7 separate regions of the Homo sapiens genome follow, and all the other regions are linked to region 6. The links are contacts of gene promoters, found by promoter capture Hi-C in blood cells and fetal thymus (Javierre and others, 2016). All regions are on one chromosome and are shown on one strand. The core of a region is centred on a gene start or on the middle of the fragment in contact, and the rest is flanking DNA. Distances in the headings are between cores, read along the strand shown. Region 1 holds the start of NSUN7 (NOP2/Sun RNA methyltransferase family member 7). Region 2 overlaps NSUN7 (NOP2/Sun RNA methyltransferase family member 7). Region 3 overlaps APBB2 (amyloid beta precursor protein binding family B member 2). Region 4 overlaps NSUN7 (NOP2/Sun RNA methyltransferase family member 7). Region 5 has its middle 27 kb from the start of NSUN7. Region 6 holds the start of CHRNA9 (cholinergic receptor nicotinic alpha 9 subunit). Region 7 has its middle 5.7 kb from the start of PDS5A.

Region 1 (2,701 bases), core at 59-2,558, 410 kb before region 6:
AATAAATTGTTTCCTTGTTGAATGTAATGACCGCGCACTACACCGATCTAAGGACAAACACAGTGCACGGGGAAATCTGCAATCCTGGGCTGGAAGAGCTAGTTTCATGGGAACCCTAATTCCTTGACACTTGCAATTAACCAAAGATATGCACATGCCTAAAACCAAAACCTGGTGTGAATGAGGGGAAGGGAGGAGGAGGGCTGCATTCCCCAAATTCTCTCGCTATTATTTTCTTTTAGTGTTGATCTTCCAGACTGGCACAACTCACATTTCAGGGCACTGAAAGCCAGCTCATAAGACAAACGCTGAAAGGACTGATCCTCAGACTCGGACAAGGACCGCAGGGGTTCATTCCCATACTTGATTAAGACTTTCTGTGCCGACTTTTCGATTCGAATACCCTGAAAAATGTTGGCTGCCATGACATAAACGGAGTCCGGATAGCCCGTTTTTTCGGGCACACCAGCTGAGCTTTTCCCACCGGACAGAGGCAGGGAAGTGAGTTGGGAGATGATCTCGGGATCTTCTTCGTTCGAAAACTCCAGTTCGCCCGTGGAATTCAGCATGTCTGCCCCTCGCCTGTCGTGAGTCCTTCACCCTGGGGTTAGAATTCCGATGTTCCAGGAAACGGCTTTCCTCGCATCTGCAGCATGGTCTCTGTGAAGAGAGAAGGTGATTGCAGTAAATCACTCTTTCTGCAGCACCCCTGTGGGTGGCCCCCTTCGTTGTGGCCTTAAAGACTAAGAGGGAGCATTTCCCGTCCCATCTGAGTGTCCCAGACTTCGAGCCTGGGACGCTCAAAAAAAAAAAAAAAAGCGAGGAGGGGTGCAGCGGCGGAGGGAGAAGAGCCCCAAGGAGACCGACGGCTTCCCTCAAGCCAGTCTGGGGGCAGAGCTGCCCCCGGAGCCCCGTCCGCGTCCCCACAGCCCAGTCACCGGCTCCCCCGACTCCTCCCTTACCCCGAGGGCGGATGGTTCCCGGGGCTTCGGGGACGAAGACGCGGAGGGCGGCGTCGGTCACAGGCCCTTGGGAGCCCCGGGACTGCGGGGCGACGGCTGCTGCCCGCGAAGGCCGTTTGGTTCAAATGCAGCCACTCCCACCGGCAGGATTCGGGGCAGGGGGGTCGCAGCCTCTGGCGCCCGGTTCGCTCCGGTGTCGTGAAGTGGTGGGCGCCTCGGGGCCTCGCCTGGCCTCGCGCGTGAGGCCTTCGCGGACGTGGCGGCGAAGAGGGGTGAGCGCGGTGCCCGGGGTCTGGCTGGCTCAGGCCGAGGAAAGCTCAGCCTCCCGAGTCTCCGGCAGTCGACTGCTCCCGGACCGGGTCTTCATGGCAACCGCGAGCGGAGGTGGGGCAGGGGGCGCGGCGCGAGGGCCGTTCCCGCGGGATTTGGCGGGTGCTACCTGTTGCCGGGAGAGTCGCTCTTCCCCCAGCGCGCGGAGACACCTGTTTCAGCCCCTCCGAGCCAGAGGCCTCTTGCACAGTTCCTGGACCTCACCGGGCCTGAGTGCGTGCCCTTGGCTTTGTTTATAAACATTTGGGGATATTTTTGAGGTAGTCTGACGTAGTTCCGTGGTTTTAACTCACAAGTTCCTGAAGTCCCTGTTAAAACTACACATTCTTTAAAATATTTTTAAAATATAGTAATAATTTTTTTTTTGAGACATGGTCTCGCTCTGTCGCCCAGGCTGGAGTGCAGTGGCGCAATCTCGGTTCACTGCAGCCTCCTCCTCCCGGGTTCACGTGATTCTCATGCCTCAGCCTCCCGAGTAGCTGGGACTACAGGCGCCCGCCACCACACCCTGCTAATTTTTGTATTTTTAGTAGAGACAGGGTTTCACCGTGTTGATCAAGTTAGTCTCGAACTCCTGACGTCAAGTGATCTGCCGGCCTTGGCCTCCCAACGTGCTGGGATTACATGCGTGAGCCACTGCGCCGTCTGTAATAATTTTTTTTAATAACAGAGACAGGGTTCCCATTATGTTGCCCAGGGTGGTCTCGAATTCCTGGGCTCAAGGAGTCCTCCCTCCTCGGCCTCCCAAAGTGCTGGGATTTCAGGCGTGAACCACCGCCTCCAGCTAAAAAAAAATCCTTGGAACCCATCCTAGAGATTTGAGTTGCTAAGACCCAGTAATTTGCATTTTTATCAGGTAACTGGCGATTCTGATGCAATCAGCCCAAAGACCACAGTTTGAAAAACTCTGGTATAGTTGAAAGACAACTGGTCCTAATTCCACCTCTGCCTTTCCTCCTTAGGGATTTGCCCTTCCTTCTTTAGGCTAAGGCCATTTCCATTTCCAGCCAGTGGTTAGTAGGATGAAGGGGAAAGAGAGGGCAGCCCATATTTTTCAATGACCTGAAAGGTGCACATATCACTTTGGCTCACATTTTATTGGTCAGAACTCAGTCATATACCCAGCAACCAAGAGGCTGGTAAATGTGTCCAGCTAAAAATAAGGGAACTATTACTGTAGAAGAAGGAGAGAATGGATAATGGGGAAAAAATTAGCAGTACAGAACTCTAACCCTGACCCCTTCTCTCAGAAATCCACCCACTTTCATTATCCCCGGAATACGTTAAACATTCCGTAACATTTTATGTATACATGCATTCATTCGTTCGTTTAACAAGTATATATTAAATTCTTGCTGTGTCCCTGGCATTGTGTTCAGCCCTACAAGTAAAATAATGAATGTATAGAA
Region 2 (2,700 bases), core at 27-2,526, 430 kb before region 6:
TTTCACTATGTTGGCCAAGATGGTCTCGATCTCTTGACCTCACGATCCGCCCACCTTGGCCTCCCAAAGTGCTGGGATTACAGGTGTGAGCCACCGTGCCCAGCCACCTCAGTTTATTTTTAAATGAAATTGATATTACTCTTTTTTGGCTTTTTACTACTTCTTTTGGCTTTTTGTAATATACATTTACATTTTTTAAATTTTCAGAAATATTTATGTAGTTTTTGACTCAAGTTTTTGAATGGCATTACTAATGTCTAACATATCAGAACTGTGGTTCTCTTTAAATATAAATTGAATAAAGTCATCTGCTGCATAATGACATTTAGGTCAATGATGAACTCTGTTTATGATGGTGGTCCCATAAAAGTTTACTACGGTAGTACCTTTGCTATATTTAAATAGGTTTAGATACACAAATACTTGCCATAGTGTTATAATTGCCTACAGTATTCAGTACATAACATGCTGTGCAGGTTTGTAGCCTAGGAGCACTAGGTTATACCATATAGGATAGGTGTGCAGTAGGTTATACCATCTAGATTTGTGTAAGTATGTTCTACGATGTTCCCATCAGAAGAAATCACCTAACGACACATTTCTCAGAATGTATCCCCATCATTAAGTGACACTTGATTGCAATTTCTTTTTTTTTTTTTTTTTTTGAGATGGAGTTTCCCTCTTGTTATCTAGGCTGCAGTGCAGTGGCATGATCTTGGCTCACTGCAACCTCCGCCTCCCGGGTTCAAGTGATTCTCCTGCCTCATCCTCCCAAGTAGGTAGGATTACAGGCATGCACCACCACGCCTGACTAATTTTGTATTTTTAGTAGAGATGGGGCTTCTCCATGTTGGTCCAGGCTGGTCTCGAACTCCCGACCTCAGGAGATCCACCCGCCTCGGCCTCCCAAAGTGCTGGGATTACAGGCGTGAGCCACCACGCCTGACCTTGATTGCATTTTCTTAATGCCAAAAGATAATCTTCAATGAACTGCTTGAATTTCCCAGAAAAATGTAAAATCAGTCATCTGCTTCAGACTCTTTACTAGGTAAGTGAAACAGGTGAAGAGTTTCTGAAGAAGGAGCGGAGAGAATGTGAGAGATAAAACCCATGAACAAGTATTTAAAGGGCATTTTGGCAATTAGAAATTCTGGAGCATTATGGGGAATGAGAGAAACTGGGGAAGATAAGAAAAAGAATATATCTGAGCAAATGTGCCTTATCCCAAAAATGCATGGCTGGTTTAACATTCATAAACCAGTCAATGTAAATCACCTGGCCACTTAATACAATAAAGAAGAAAAACAATCACTTCAGTCTTCTAAAACTGTTCTCTGTTTTCTTAACTCAGCAAGACTGCTGTTTTCTACTTTCTGCATTGCAGTTTGAGAATTCTTCCAGGCATAAAGCCAGGACTATTCTAGGGCTCACCTCATTTGTTTTGTTCTTTCAGGGATCAGGTTTCTGTGCTGCTTCTTGTCTAATGTCCAAAACCTTTACGTCCTATGATATATTTTGGCCAGTTTTCTAGTTGTTTACAGTAGAAGGGGAAGACTGATCCAAGATATTCTATCATGACCATACAATTACATTTTGAAAATATCACTCTACCTGCCATGTGGAATAGATTGCAGGAAAGTGAGAGTTATAGGCCAGGGAAATGTATCTAAGGAAGCTATCATGGTAGTCCAAGTGATAGATTATGGTGGCATAGATTTGGATGGTAGTAGTGGAAATGGAAAGAAGCACACAGGCTCAGTGTATGTTTTTGAATTGGAGTTACAGGACTTGATGCATTAGACACAGATTGAGTGCAGGGGAGGGGAGGAAAGAAGAATCAAGGATGATGTCTAGGTAGATGGTGATGCCTTAGCTGTGAAGTGGAAGACATCAGAATAAATGGTTTTGGGGTGGTTTGGAAGAAGAACTGACTAAGTCTTTCCCCTCCTTTCTCTACTTTTTCACTGCTTATTTTCCAATTGCTGCCTCACAACAGTCCAACAAATAATTTAATAGAAATAGATTATTGGGCTGGTGGAAAGGCATGGGGAGTGAGAAACAAGGGGTTGTGGTCTCTCTTTTTTTAACCTGGTCACACAGTATTAAAAAGACAGTTACATTTTATACAAAGAATGGGTTCTTAAAGACCTTTCATATGTAAAAAAAATGATAATAGGTATCATCTTGGATTACATGTCTAAACCCACGAATAAGTGAAGAAAAAGATACATGTTGGTGCTTAGGGGTATAAGAGTGAAAAAACACAAGGATTCCCAGGAGGAACAACAACAAAGGTCAAACCACTTTTACAAGGAGGAAATCATTCTCATTCAGCTTCTTGCTAATTACTTCTTCTTCTATAACCTCTTAGAGTTAGTCTTTATCTGGCCGAGCACGGCAGCTCACACTTGTAATCCCAGCATTCTAGGAGGCCGAGGCGGGAGGATCACCTGCGGTCAGGAGTTTGAGACCAGCCTGGCCAACATGCTGAAACCCCATCTCTACAAAAACACAGGCATAATGGCGCACACCTGTAATCCCAGCTACTTGGGAGGCTGAGGCAGGAGAACTGCTTGAGCTCAGGAGGTGGAGGTTGCAGTGAGCCGAGATTGTGCCATTGCACTCCAGCATGGGCGACAGAGCAAGAGTCCGTCTCAAAAAAAAAAAAAAAGAAAAAAAAAGAATTAGTCTTTATCCTCT
Region 3 (2,827 bases), core at 292-2,791, 510 kb before region 6:
GGCTACTGAGCAGATGATGAAAGGAAGGTAATTTAAACCAAACACAGCACTTAATTACCATCACGAGCTCCAGCAGTGGTGGAACCAAAAGTCCAATGGGGACAGAGAGAGAAAGGCAGAGCAGAGGCTACCTCCAGTGAGGGATGGGGTCCTGAGCAGAGCCAATTAACTGGGAGGGAGCCAGGCTCAGGTGCTAGGTGCCCCAGAGCTACACGGCAGGAAAGAGCCCAGCCAGCAGGCCTGTGTTCTGTTTGCAGATCTACCACCTGCTAGCTGTGGGCTTTGGAGCAAGTCAACTTAAACTCTCTGACCCTTCAATTCCTCATTTGTAAAATGAGTCGTGATGCTTCCCCCTGCAAGGTTATTGTGTGGCTTGGCGACAGTGCGCAGCAAGAATAGAGCCTGGCTAGACAGAAGCAATCATAGCCAGGAGCCGCTACTGTTACTTGGTTAGTGGTAATCAGCCTTCCTAGGGTTGGTGTCTGCTTTTCTTTAGATATTATTGAGTTTACATTATACCAGAAATACTTGTATCTAGATGGAAGTTAACAAAATTCAGGACTGGGCATAGTGGCTCATGCCTGTAATCCAAATACTTTTTTGAGAAGCTGAGGTGGGTGGATTGCTTGAGCCCAAAAGTTTGAGACCAACCTTTGCAACATAGTGAGACCTCATTTCTACAACAAATAAAAAATTAGCCGGGTATGATGGCAAACACCTATAGCCCCCGCTACTTGGGAGGTTGAGGCCGGAGGATTGCTTGAGCCAAGTAGTTTGAGGATGCAGTAAGCTATGATCGTGCTACTGGACTCCTGCCTGGGCAACAGAGCGAGATCCCATCTCTTAAAAAAAAAAAAAAGCAAGCAAAAACAACAAACAATTCAAATGAAGGCCATATGTATTGGCTTTCCATGTTATCTACCCTAGTACTCCTTTGAACTGGCACAAAGAAAGCCCCTTGAAAATTCAGAAAGTGATTCACCATATCCACAAGAGGTCCTCCATGTGGCTGGGTGCTCACCGTGGTTTTAAGTAGGAGGCTTGTCTGCACCTTGCCAGGAGTTTGTACCCTCATGGCATTCTGGCATGGAAACCACTGTGCTGTCATTTTCCCTGCTCAGAATCAGTTCTAAATCCTTATGCGTTCCTGTGCTTTGTCAGATAGGAGCCTTCTGGTGTCAAGGTGTTTCGTGTTGTTTTATTTTTTTGAGACGGTCTTGCTCTGTCACCCAGGCAGGAGTGCAGAGGCACGATCTCAGCTCACTGCAACCTCCACCTCCCGGGTTGCAGTGATTCTCACGTCTCAGCCTCCTGAGTAGCTGGGACTACAGGTGTGCGCCACCATGCCTGGCTAATTTTTGTATTTTTAGTAGAGACAGGGTTTCGTCATGTTGGCAGGCTGGTCTTGAACTCCTGGCCTCAAGTAATCCACCTGCCTCAACCTCCCAAAGTGCTGGGATTACAAGTGTGAGCCACCATGCCTGACCTGGTATTTTTTATTTTTGTTTTACCATCTTGGCTTTCAGAAAGGAAGCTAACCCATGGTTTCACAGTTCAGGTAGAATTTATATAACGTTATCCTTTCATTATACCCTAAACTTTAAAGTTGAAACTGGAACATGGTGTAAATTATCTCTCACTTAATAACTAACTATAATTTGTGTGTGTATTCTTCTCTCAGATATTCAGAGATGCAAGATTTTTGCATTTGGTTTTTTGTTTTTTTTTTAATCTGTGATATAGCACAGATGAAAGCTGAAGCTCGTTAATTCTTGCTTAAAGTCTTCAAAGATGGACTTTTAAAAATACTCGTTTCCTGGTTGCTTTTAAATATCCTTTTTCCCTCCTCCTCATTAGTAAGCAGGCTGGTAACTATTGTGTCTTCCCTCCAATGGCATGAGAAAGTCCTTTGTTTAGAATAATGTGCCTTGAATTTCAATAACCTCAACCACTTTAACTCCTGGCTTTACACTTCTAAGTGCTGGAAGTCTAACTTTCCCATCATGGCGCTGCTGGGCAGGACAGTGAGGTGGGAGGGGAGCTTGCTTTGGAAAGGAAGGCACACTTGGTCAGAGACGGTTGTTCATGTCACCGGTTGATCCTGGGAAGGATAGAACCTTTCCCTGAGATGAATTCTCTAAATATCAGCCAGAAATCAGATGGTAAATTTGCATAAATTCAGTATTCATTTCAGTTCAGAGGCCTTTCACCTGCGGCATGTAGATTCTAAAGGGACCTGGGATTGAGTTTCAAGAATCACTGAACTGTTCCAGCTCTGCCCCCTTCCAAAATTGTGTATAAAATTGTGAGTCTGTGCACTTTTTTTTTTTTTTTTTTTTTTGGAGTGTTTTCATCCGAGGGCCTTGATCCAAAACAGGTCAGGAACCTTTCCTTTCTCCTCGTGGAGCTCCCCTTCCCTCTCTCACATAGTGATTGGCCTGGCCTGCACTGTAAGGCCATACTCAAGCCGCCATCCTGTAGGAGCTTTATATGGATTAAATAATGGAATTTTATGGCACTCTCAGGACCTGAAGGCCTCTATGATTCCCATTTCACAGATGAAGAAACTGAAAAACAAAGAGGCTAAGGGCCCTGACCAAGGGCAGACAGCTGATAAATGACACACACACACACACACACACACACACACACCCCACTCACACCCACCCACCCACCCACCCACACCCACCTACCCACCCCTGAAGCTGGAGGGAAAAAATAAACTGTCAGACTCAGGAGCTGGTGCAAGAATTTTCATGATGTAAAGTTTTGCAGTGTTTACTTCATTGTCCTGTGGATAATGGTGTGATGTGTGCTCAAAAGGCTA
Region 4 (2,777 bases), core at 230-2,729, 460 kb before region 6:
AAATGTTTTTAAAACTAATTCCTTATTGTTCCATTCTACCTTGTATCTAAGTTTAATAAAATAATCTTTCGGATTCACCCCCACTAAGTTTCTGGCTAACGTTCCACGTTCCCACCAGAGTCACTAGGTCGGCAGCTCCTTATTTGCTCAAGCTTTTAGCTCCTCAGAGTACAGGTTCCTTCAAAAGCCCGCTTACTTCAGGATACGACAACTTTTTTTTTTTTAAATGAGATGGAGTCTTGCTGTCGCCCAGGCTGGAGTGCAGTGGCGCGATCTCGGCTCACTGCAGGCTCCGCCCCCCGGGGTTCAAGCCATTCTCCTGCCTCAGCCTCCCGAGTAGCTGGGACTACAGGCGCCCGCCACCTCGCCCGGCTAATTTTTTGTATTTTTAGTAGAGACGGGGTTTCACCGTGTTAGCCAGGATGGTCTCGAGCTCCTGACCTCGTGATCCGCCCTCCTCGGCCTCCCAAAGTGCTGGGATTACAGGCGTGAGCCACCGCTCCCGGCCAGTATACGACAACTTCTTAGCTTATCCTATCATCTCCTCATCAAGGCTTTCAAAACATTACCAGTACCTAGGAAATGTTTTCCTTTCCCCACTTTCCTTATTTGTATTTTCCTCTGGGCCTTTCTCCTCTAGCCTTTAGTTTATTTTTATTCTGTGGTTTATTTTTTTTCTGGATTTCCACCTCAAAATGGCCCAGGATAAGGCCAGAGTCTCACAGTTCTGAGCTCTAGTTCTCCTGACTGCTATGCTTATTATAGCTGCTATTTCTTCCCCCTTTTTTCCTTCCCCCTTTTCTTTCAGTGTCTACTAATTGTTCTTTGATTATTTCTTAAAGTTCATCTAGAAATTTTCTCAGCCTACCTACCATTCTACCATCTGAATTGGTTATTCTTTGGCTGAAGTCTCTCTGGAAAGAAATTTTCTATAGCAAGTCAAAATTCCATGTGGTACAGTGTAAACCCAGTTAAAGATAGTGTCGTTTAGTGGAAGGAAAATGTGCTAACCCACCTGAATTTGAATCCCAGCTTCCCTACTTACTAGCTACATGACCATAAGCAACTGGTTTAATTTTTCTGAGTCTTGGTTTTTTTCCTCTACAATTAGAAGAACACTAACCTCAAAAAGTTATTGTGAATACTAAGTGACAGTATGTGAACACTACCTAGAATATTGCCTGGGACATTATTGTGTTTAATAAATATTAGCTCTTTTCCCTCCATTTCTTTTCCTCTTCTGTCCTTGCTAGAAACAGAAAACAGTTACTATATTCTGTACATTTGTGGGGTGTCTTCTTTTTCTAATATTCTAATTAACCTTTCAATTTAATATGCCTTTCAATATAAGCAAGGGATAAGCATAAGTTTCATTTAATTTGGAGCAATATAATGTGATTAAGAGAGTCATTAAAAGTGCCAGTCTCAGAGTCAGACTGGTTGTATTTGAATCCAAGCTCTGCCTCTTACTAGCCCAATGATCCTAGGAGACTTCATTAACTTCTCTGAGCCTCAGATTCCTCATTTGTAAAATAGAAGTTAACAAGTTACTACTTCACAGAATTCTTGTGAAGACTTACTGAAATAATCCAAGAAAAGTGCCACGCCCAGGGCCTTACATCTAAGTGCTCAATAAATGTTAATGTTAAATAATTATTATTTTAAATGTATTTAAAAGCCAATAAAATTAAATGTCAATGCTTCTATATTTAGTCTGAGACATTCATTTCATAAAGCATACATCCTAGCGATTAAGACACCTTTGAGTTTGAAATAATCTGATAATGATTTAATTAGAATCATGTTTAGAACATAGGCTCTAGAGTCAAACAGATCTAAATTTGAATCTTAGCTCTGTCTCTAGTTGCTTGACCTGAGAAAAATGAATCAATCTTTGAGTCTCAGTATTTTCATCTATAGAATGCCGGTAAATTTTAACACTTACATCAAGAGCTCTGGTATATTCAGAATAGCATACTGGCCAGCATCTTTTCTGATTGCCTACATTATTCCAATTATTAAATATTTTGAATATCACCCTGGTCTATTGGATTGGTGTAAGGATTAAATGAGGTAACAGAGGTAAAGGACTTTATACATAGTAAGTACTTTATATGTGGTTGCTATTATTTATTAATCAGATGTATTTGATATGCTATTTTAATGATTTTAAATAATTTTATATTTTAAACTGTCAACTAATTTCAATAATTTAGAAATTAAAACAAGTACCTTCATGTTCATTTAAAATAAATTCTACTGGATTACTAACACCCAGTCCTGAACAACGAGGTAGCAGCAAAATCACTTTAACTTTCTGTAACCTGTGATCCTTTGATTCAATGTTAATAAATTTCTCATGAAGTATTTCAATATCTGGGGAAAAAACACAGAAAATTTAATGTAAAATATTAATGAAAAATCTTAATGTAGTATGTGATTGTATCTATTTATTGTACATTTTAAAATCCTCAACCTCACAAAAATTCATTTTGATGTAGTTAGAAAAGAAGGCTATTCTTCTCTGATATCTACCCAAAGTTAATACAGGAATCCTATTAATAGAATGTTTTCTCCTTCACCTGAAATGATGTTGAAATTTAAAATTAAATTCTCATTCTGAACTGCAGGATATATAGTAGGGGAGAAATAGACTTCAGAGGCAGAAAAATTCAAGTTGACTCCCAGCTTCACTGTTTACTAGCTGTGCATTTTAATCTCCCTGAGCCTCCATTTCCTTCTTCATAAAATGGGATGGCTACCTCATATAACTGTGG
Region 5 (2,700 bases), core at 176-2,675, 390 kb before region 6:
TCAGCCTCCCAAAGTGCTGGAATTAGAAGCGTGAGCCACCACACCTGGCCTATTTATTCATTTATTTAAAAAAAATTTTTTTTTTAAGTAAGACAGGTTTTAAAATGTTGACTTGCCCCTGGCACAGTGGCTGACATCTGTAATCCCAGCACTTTGGGAGGCCGAGGCGGGAGGATCACTTGAGCTCAGGAGTTCAAGACCAGCCTGGGTGATATGGTGAAACCCCATTTCTACAAATACAGAAAAATTAGCTGGGTCCGGTGGTGCGTGCCTGTGGTCCCAGCTATTCAGGAGGCTGAAGTGGAAGGCTGGCTTGAGTCCTGGAACTGGAGATCGCAGTGAGCCAAGATTGTGCCACTGCACTCCAGACTGAGTGACAGAGTGAGACCCTGTCTCAAAAGTTGACTTGCCATAATCCAAGTTCCTTGAAATCAGAGTGGAAGAAACTCATATTTAGAGAATAGGGAAGAGTGTAGGCTGGAAGGCAGGGACTTGAGGAACTGGTCATGGCAGTCATGGAAGGTTCCTCAGAGCATACTGAGAGGTTTTGCTTCCTGCCACAGAAACTGACATTCCTGTAAGTGGAAATTCTATGAATTGACCAGAACCATAAATGAGAAGCTGAATAAGGCAAAGTTTTATATGACTGTCAAGCAATTAAAACTACAGGTCAGGCTGGGTTCGGCGGCTCATGCCTGTAATCCCAGCACTTTGGGAGGCCGAGGCAGGTGGATCATCTGAGGTTAGGAGTTCGAGACCAGCCTGACCAACATGGAAAAACCCTGTCTCTACTAAAAATACAAAATCAGCCGAGCGTGGTGGCATGTGCCTGTAATTCCAGCTACTCTGGAGGCTGAGGCAGGAGAATCATTTGAACCCAGGAGGCAGAGTTTGCGGTGAGCCGAGATCACACCATTGCACTCTGGGCAACAAGAGCGAAACACAATCTCAAAAAAGAAAAAAAACAAAACCAAAAAAAACCCCTGCAGGTCATCTGGCTTGGGCCCTTGAATGAGTAGGCATCCTTTCAAAGTTAAGGAAATAAGGCACAAAAAAGTTTAATAATTGGCACTTAATTACTAACTCAATATTCTTATTTTAAAAGTTAATAGTAGGTCTAGGCTCAGTATTTCCCACTGGCAACTTGCTGAGGGAGGTTGAATTCCATAGAGACAGTAAATTGGTGATTGATTGCCAGGGGCTGCAGGGGGTAGAATGAGGATGGAGTTATTGATTTAAATCAATGGGGATACAGGGGTGAAGAGAATAGACAAGGTCCCAGTCCTTATGGAGGTTAGTGTTTATCAGGGAGACAGACAAGTTAAACAAACATTGCAGGAGGTGGAGGGGGCTGGGTCAGCGGCACTTATGCAGGAAGTAATTTCTAAGAAGCAGTAAGTAATGTCTAAGAAGCAGTAAGTTACGGTAAGAGAGATTATGAATATAATTTACTTCCTGTCTCTATTCACCAGGAAGTAAATTATGGTGTTCTTGGCAAAGTAAACAGTATAGTTAAAGGCCCACAGATGAAACAGCACATGGTATGCTTAGGGAACTGAAAAAAGTTTAGATCAGTGGAAATGCGGTGGGGAGCAGGAAGAGGCAGATGAGGGTCAGACCACTCATGTGACAAAACAAAGGGGAACCATCAGAAGCTGTTGAAGAGGCAAATGACATGATCACATTTGCGTTTTTGAGACATCACTGCAGAATGTAGGATGGATTGGGGTGAGGCAAGGCTGGAAGTGGAAAGACCGGTTAGGAGACCAGGAAGGATAACCTTGGTGAGAGGTAGTGTGCCTGAACCAGGGTGGTAACCCTGAGGATGATGAGAGGTAGACAGGAGTAAGAGATGTGAAGTTGAATCAGCAGGACTTAGTGATTAATTGGAATGAGGTATCAGAGAAAAGGAATCAAGGTTCTGGCATGGGCAACTTGGGGCCCTTCACTGTTCCAGGAGCACAGAAAGGGAGGCGATTTGGGGAGCTTTCAGTTTAGAAATGTTACGATCATGATACTTCCAAAGATATTCAAACAAATATGCCTACTAGATGCAAAGACTTGGCCTGGAACCATCACTAGTCATCCACCTGGGGATGGTAATTGTAGCCATGGGAGGAGATCAGATCCAGGGAAAGTAGAATGAAAAGAGAAGGGATCTCTTATCTTTTGGTAGAACCATGGGGAAACACTAACAAGTCAGAGAAAGACAGAAGGGAGGAGCCAGAAAAGGAAACAGAGGTGAGGCCAAGAGGAATGAGGAGAATCGTAGGATCATCGAGTCACAGAGGCCAAGGAAAGAAGTGGTCAAATGTGTCAGCTGCTAAAGAGAGGTCAGTAGAGCAAGGACTGAAATTTGCTATTGAATTTAGTAACAAGGAAGTTGTTAGTAACTTAGGAGATTTCAGTGGAAACCCAGATTTCAGTAAGCAGATGAGTAAGTCAGGCAGTGGAAACCATTCTTTTATGAAGTAGATCTGTGACATAACCAGAGGGAAATGTGGAGTCAAATAGAGTTGGTTCTTAAAACAAACAAATAGAAAAGGTGGGACAGGGTTAACTAAGTTTAAATGAGAAAAAGAAGTCAGTCAGTAAAAAAGGGGGAGGTTCAGGGCCAGGCATGGTGAGTCACACCTGTAATCCCAGCACTTCAGGAGGCCGAGGCGAGCGGATCACTTGAGGTCAGGAGTTCGAGACCAG
Region 6 (2,700 bases), core at 86-2,585:
TCTACTAAAAATACAAAAAAAAAATTAGCCGGGTGTGGTGGCGGGTGCCTGTAGTCTCAGCTACTCAGGAGGCTGAGGCAGGAGAATGGTGTGAACCCAGGAGGCAGAGCTTACAGTGAGCGGAGATCATGCCACTGCACTCCAGCCTGGGTGACAGCAAGACTCCGTCTCAAAAAAAAAATTAAGATCAAATTCACATTAAAACTCACCATTTTAATCATTTTCGAAGGGAACAATGCACCGGCTTCCAATATATTCACAACGTTGTGCAACCATCACCACTGCCTAATTCAAGATCATTTCTTCCCCCCGCAAAGAAACGCCGTAATCATTAAGAACTCACTGGCCGTTTTCCCCGTCCTCCCCACAGACCCCGGCAACCTCTATGCCGTTTTCTGTCTCTACGGATTTACCTCTTTTGGACATTTTATATAAATGGCTGCATACAGTATGTAACCCCATCTTTCTTTAGATTATCTAAGACTGTTACAGTTAATGACCAGGATTAGGTAACGTTTCTTGAAATTAATTAGTTTTGTAGAAAGCTTCCTTTTCCCGACATTCTCTTCTCCCACCAGCTTGCTTAAGGAGCTATCATTCCCTCTCAAATTCCCAGTTAAGACATTCTCTTCAGAAAGCATGGTTGTTTATCCTCTAAGAATCATTCCACAGAGTCAGCACCATGTGTTACTCACCATATCCTTAATCTGAGAGAGCGTAATCTGCAGGGTCACATTCAGGACTTTATCTGTATCTTCCACTGGACGAAGAGCATTAGAATAATCTTCAAAAAGGTCATTAAACAACTTCTGAGCATATTTTCCATCTGCCGTCTCTGCAGCTACTCAACAAGAGGGATCTGGATTAACATTCAGAGTGTTGTGTGTATTTCAAGACAAACAACACAAGACTGAGGTCTAAAATGGGGGATGGCCCAACACTGGCGAGGGACAAGCTTTGGGTGGATGGATGAGTTGTTTTTCTGGCATGCCCTACCAAGATCAGAGTCAGTAGGAAGCACAGAACACTTCCATGCGGTTGAATCATCTGTTTTGTCTTCCCTGTCCTGCCCCACCTCCCACCAAAGCAATAGCCCCAGATGAGACAAGATAGGTTACGTGTCACCAGCCTCTCACCTCTCAGTCTGGAAGCAGCAAAGTAGATCCAGCAAAAGGAGATGCAGGAATGGGACCAGTTCATCTTTTTCCTGAGCCTCTATAATAAAGTCTCAGTCAGGCAGCGTGGTCTTCCACTTCCCCCTATGAATACAAAGGATCTGGGCACAAGGAGCCCACACCGCTGCAGCCTTATGGCGGGAGAGCTCAGGCTTGCATTGCATGCAGGACCGAGATCCTGAGATCCAGGCCTGCCCTCCCTCCCCTCCGGTAATTTGAGACTGGCAGCTCCAGTGGCTGAGAAGCCGGGAACCCAGGGTGTGTTAGGTCCAACAGTGCTGTTGTGGGGGGCCATCTCAGTTGAGGGTCCCTAGCCACCCTCAGCAGAAACAACCAGACAGAAAAGGAGGTAGATGCAGGCAACAGGGGTATGCCTGACACCCCAGAGACTCCATCTAAGCAGAATGGGAGATTTCTACACCCACCATGAGCAGAGTCAGCCTGAGTCCAGGGACTAAGGGAAGCCTAAAAGACTGAGCCATGGGACGGCTGTCCAGAAAGACTCTACGTGCTTTTAGCAGCATTTGAAGAGGGAAAGAGACACGGTTCTATGATCTCCAGAATATATTGGCATTTTGGTTTTTTCTCTGCCTCAGCTTCTGATCCCTCCTGCAGCTGTCCCACTGGGCATGGATCTTGCATAGTAAATGTTTGTGAGTATATATGTGAGGGGGTGTGCTGGATGGGCGGATAATCACTCGCTTAAGAAGCAGCAACACTGTGAGTTGGATTTGGACTTGACCACCTGGGTTTGACTGCCAGCCAAACCCTGACGAGCTCTATTATTCTGTAAAAGTCACCTAACCTCTCTGAGCCTTCCAGAACTACAGACTGGGGAAAATAATATTTTCTCTCTCTAGAGCTACTGAGATAACTGTATGTGAAAGCACTTTCTAAATATCAGTAATTATCATCTTTGATCAGCTTTGCATACCCAGAATTTCTATACTCACCAAGTCACCCAGGATTTACCAGCTCGAAAAAAAAAAAGAAAAACTGGTTCAAAGGCTGACCAAATCAGCATGAGAATAATAACCAATGGTGATATTGCTAATGATGACACCCTTTGCATTTGAATGCTACTTCATATAAAGTTTCAGTCATTTCTCATATGTGATATAATTTTACTCCTATAAAAAAATGTCAATTTTCAATTGCTGCTTAGTCTGGAAACTCATGTCTGTCTCTCCTCTTGCCTGGGGAAACTGCTTTGGAAAACCATATTAAGATAATTTGGTTGCCTGGAATTGGAGCGAGGAAATTGGATAGCTCTGTTTCATCAGGTTACAGCCGCCTGATGAGTCACCCCATCCCTCTTCGGGAATGTATCCTCTGAGTGGAACAGACACTCAAGCCATCGGCAAAGTGTTTCTTAATTGCCTATCCCATTGTGTTGATTGTGAAGACATTATTTTTCTGACGCCCCTAGTCTGACTCATTCATCAAATGACACAATTCCGGGTGCCCACGCTCAGTCCTCCTTCAGCAAACCATCCGCTCCAGAATCTCAGAGGCAGAAGGTAAT
Region 7 (2,752 bases), core at 127-2,626, 350 kb after region 6:
CGATCTTGGCTTACTGCAAATTAGCTCAGATAAAAGAGATTTTACATGAAGAAAACAATTTTGTGTGTCTGTGTAACAGAGTCTTGCTCTGTTGCCCAGGCTGGAGTCCAATGGCCTGATCTCAGCTCACTGCAACCTCTGCCTCCTGGGTTCAAGCAATTCTCCTGCCTCAGCCTCCCAAGTAGCTGGGATTACAGGTGCCCGCTACCATGCCCAGCTAATTTTTTGTATTTTTAGTGGAGAGGGGGTTTCGCTATGTTGGCCAGGCTGGTCTCGAACTCCTGACCTCAAGTGATCCACCCACCTCAGCCTCCCAAAGTGCTTGAATTACAGGCGTGAGTCATTGCGCCTGGCCTAATTTTTTATTCTTAGTAGAGACAAAGTCTCACTATCTTGCTCAGGCTGATTTTGAACTCCTGGGCTAAAGTGATCCTCCTGCCTTGGCCTTCGAAAATGCTGGGATTATGGGCATTAGCCACCTCACTTGGCCAATTATTTTAAGTTTAAAAAAAAATTTTTTTTTGTGGCCGGGCATGGTGGCTCACGCCTGTAATCCCAGAACTTTGGGAGGCCAAGGGGGCGGATCACGAGGTCAGGAGATCGAGACCATCCTGGCTAGCACGGTGAAATCCTGACTCTACTAAAAATACCAAAAATTAGCCAGGCGTGGTGACGGGCGCCTGTAGTCCTAGCTACTCGGGAGGCTGAGGCAGGAGAATGGCGTGAACCCGGGAGGCGGAGGTTGCAGTGAGCCGAAATCGCGCCACCGCACTCCAGCCTGGGCGACAGAGCGAGACTCCGTCTCAAAAAAAATTTTTTTTTTTGAGATGGAGCTTCATTGATGTTGCCCAGGCTGGAGTGCAGTGGCATGATCTTGGCTCACTGCAACCTCTGCCTACTGGGTTCAAGCCATTCTACTGCCTCAGCCTCGCGAGTAGCTGGGATTACAGGTGTGTGCTACCACCACAAGCTAATTTTTGTACTTTCAGTAGTGATGGGGTTTCGACATGTTGGCCAGCCTGGTCTCGAACTTTTGGCCTCAAGTGATTTGCCCACCTTGGCTTCCCAAAGTGCTGGAATTACAGGCGTGAGCCACCATGCCCAGCCTATTTTAAGTTATATAGGACAACAGGAGGCTAACATCCCAAGCTTCATAACAAAAATGCACTGCAATGTGATTGTTGAAATTTTATTTACTCTGAAAACTCTTTCAGTCCTATAATCATCTGTCATCCTAATACTAGCAACTTGAGAAAGGGTTAAAAAGTGGCATTTGTACAAAATATAACTCTAAATAATTTCTTATGGTACTACCATTACTAGACAAAAATTATAATTATCATGAGGGTATAATTTCTTTGACTTCAGGGGATATAATTGAAAAAATATTAAATTACAATATTAAAATGTTTGGAAATTTGTTGAGTTTGGTTTTATTTTTTTCTCTTCTGGACCTCATGTGCTCTGACTAGATTAATTATAATTCTTGGGTTATGAACACATCTCTCATTAGTCCATGGGTTGCCTTTAGTCATTCAACCATTCATTCTTTAGCATAGCTAGCATATGTGAAGTCACCATCTCACCCAAGAATAAAGCTTCAACAGAATACATCTACCAATATATTCATTCTCCCGTGTTGTCTCACTGTGTTCCCTGCTTCTCCTTGTACTCTAAGGGTAACCATTATCCTGAACCTTGCTGTTGAACTTTATGTCACTAAGATTTATCCATGTCACTTATACCTGCAGTTTTTTTCATACTTGAAAATATTTAGGGTCAGGCTTGGTGGCTCATGCCTGTAATCCCAGCACTTTGGGAGGCCCAGGTGGGCAGATCACTTGAGGTCAGGAGTTCAAGACCATCCTGGCCAACATGGGAAACCCTATCTCTACTAAAAATACAAAAATATGCCGGGTGGTGGCGGGCACCTGTAATCCCAGCTTCTCAGGAGGCTAAGGCAGGAGAATCACTTGAACCTAGGAGGCGGAAGTTGTAGTTAGCCGAGATTGTGCCACTGCACTCCAGCCTGGGCAACAGAGCAAGACTGTCTCATAACAACAACAACAAAAGAAAGTAATCAAAATAAATTAAATTAAAAATTCACTTCTCTCGTGGCACTAGCCACTTTCCAAGTGCTGCACAGTCACGTATGGCTGGTGGCTACTATTCTGGACAATGTATGTGTGGAACATTTCTATTGCTGCAGAAATTTCTATTGGACAGAACTGCCCTAGATTTTTGCTCTAGAATTTCTTACTTTCTTCTTCTTTTTTTTTTTTTTTTCTTTTTTTTGAGACTGAGTCTCACTGTGTCACCAAGGCTGGAGTGCAATGGCACGATCTCAGCTCACTGCAAGCTCTGCCTCCCAGGTTCAAGTGATTCTCCTGTCTCAGCCTCCTGAATAGCTGGGATTACACAGGTGCCCATTACCCTGCTCAGCTAATTTTTGTATTTTTAGTAGAGATGGGGTTTCACCAGGTTGGCCAGGCTGGTCTCAAACTCCTGACCTGAGGTTATCTGCCTGCCTCGGCCCCCCAAAGTGCTGGGAGTACAGGCGTGAGCCACCGTGCTCAGGTCTTTTTTTTTTTTTTAGACGGAGTCTTTCTCTGTCGCCCAGGCTGGAGTGCAGTGGTGCAATTTCGGCTCACTGCAACCCCTGCTTCCCAGAGTCAGGCAATTCTGATGCCTCAGCCTCCCAAGTAGCTAGGACTACAGGTGTGCGCCACCCCACCAGGCTAATTTTTGCATA

The links. The method cuts DNA at HindIII sites, captures the fragments that hold promoters and counts their contacts. A CHiCAGO score of 5 or more calls a contact.
Region 1: a contact is called between the fragment with the promoter of NSUN7 here and the fragment with the promoter of CHRNA9 in region 6, in 9 of 17 cell types (neutrophils, total B cells, activated CD4 T cells and 6 more). The highest score is 9.4, in neutrophils.
Region 2: a fragment that was not itself captured here is called in contact with the fragment with the promoter of CHRNA9 in region 6 in 1 of 17 cell types (neutrophils); the score reaches 6.9 in neutrophils.
Region 3: a fragment that was not itself captured here is called in contact with the fragment with the promoter of CHRNA9 in region 6 in 1 of 17 cell types (neutrophils); the score reaches 7.9 in neutrophils.
Region 4: a fragment that was not itself captured here is called in contact with the fragment with the promoter of CHRNA9 in region 6 in 1 of 17 cell types (neutrophils); the score reaches 5.0 in neutrophils.
Region 5: a fragment that was not itself captured here is called in contact with the fragment with the promoter of CHRNA9 in region 6 in 2 of 17 cell types (endothelial precursors and total B cells); the score reaches 5.9 in endothelial precursors.
Region 7: a contact is called between a fragment that was not itself captured here and the fragment with the promoter of CHRNA9 in region 6, in 2 of 17 cell types (naive CD8 T cells and non-activated CD4 T cells). The highest score is 6.2, in naive CD8 T cells.

Annotation. Positions count from the first base shown.
Region 1 is chr4:40,748,562-40,751,262 of GRCh38, reverse strand. NSUN7 (NOP2/Sun RNA methyltransferase family member 7) reads right to left here and starts at 1,308. Exons shown (of 12, transcript NM_024677.6): 1 at 963-1,308; 2 at 272-660. The coding sequence starts at 569. The HindIII fragment of the contact is 13,723 bases long and covers 1-2,701 here.
Region 2 is chr4:40,768,176-40,770,875 of GRCh38, reverse strand. All of the region lies in intron 4 of NSUN7 (NOP2/Sun RNA methyltransferase family member 7), which reads right to left. Among named protein-coding and RNA genes, the nearest start is that of NSUN7, 20 kb to the right of the region's middle. The HindIII fragment of the contact is 3,396 bases long and covers 1-2,700 here.
Region 3 is chr4:40,845,841-40,848,667 of GRCh38, reverse strand. All of the region lies in intron 12 of APBB2 (amyloid beta precursor protein binding family B member 2), which reads left to right. Among named protein-coding and RNA genes, the nearest start is that of NSUN7, 97 kb to the right of the region's middle. The HindIII fragment of the contact is 8,965 bases long and covers 1-2,827 here.
Region 4 is chr4:40,790,201-40,792,977 of GRCh38, reverse strand. NSUN7 (NOP2/Sun RNA methyltransferase family member 7) reads right to left here. Exons shown (of 12, transcript NM_024677.6): 8 at 2,233-2,376. Among named protein-coding and RNA genes, the nearest start is that of NSUN7, 42 kb to the right of the region's middle. The HindIII fragment of the contact is 2,650 bases long and covers 155-2,777 here.
Region 5 is chr4:40,721,716-40,724,415 of GRCh38, reverse strand. No RefSeq gene overlaps it. Among named protein-coding and RNA genes, the nearest start is that of NSUN7, 27 kb to the left of the region's middle. The HindIII fragment of the contact is 5,794 bases long and covers 1-2,700 here.
Region 6 is chr4:40,333,968-40,336,667 of GRCh38, reverse strand. It overlaps CHRNA9 (cholinergic receptor nicotinic alpha 9 subunit), which reads right to left and starts at 1,335. Exons shown (of 5, transcript NM_017581.4): 1 at 1,137-1,335; 2 at 696-841. The coding sequence starts at 1,200. The HindIII fragment of the contact is 7,151 bases long and covers 958-2,700 here.
Region 7 is chr4:39,982,270-39,985,021 of GRCh38, reverse strand. No RefSeq gene overlaps it. Among named protein-coding and RNA genes, the nearest start is that of PDS5A, 5.7 kb to the right of the region's middle. The HindIII fragment of the contact is 449 bases long and covers 1,152-1,600 here.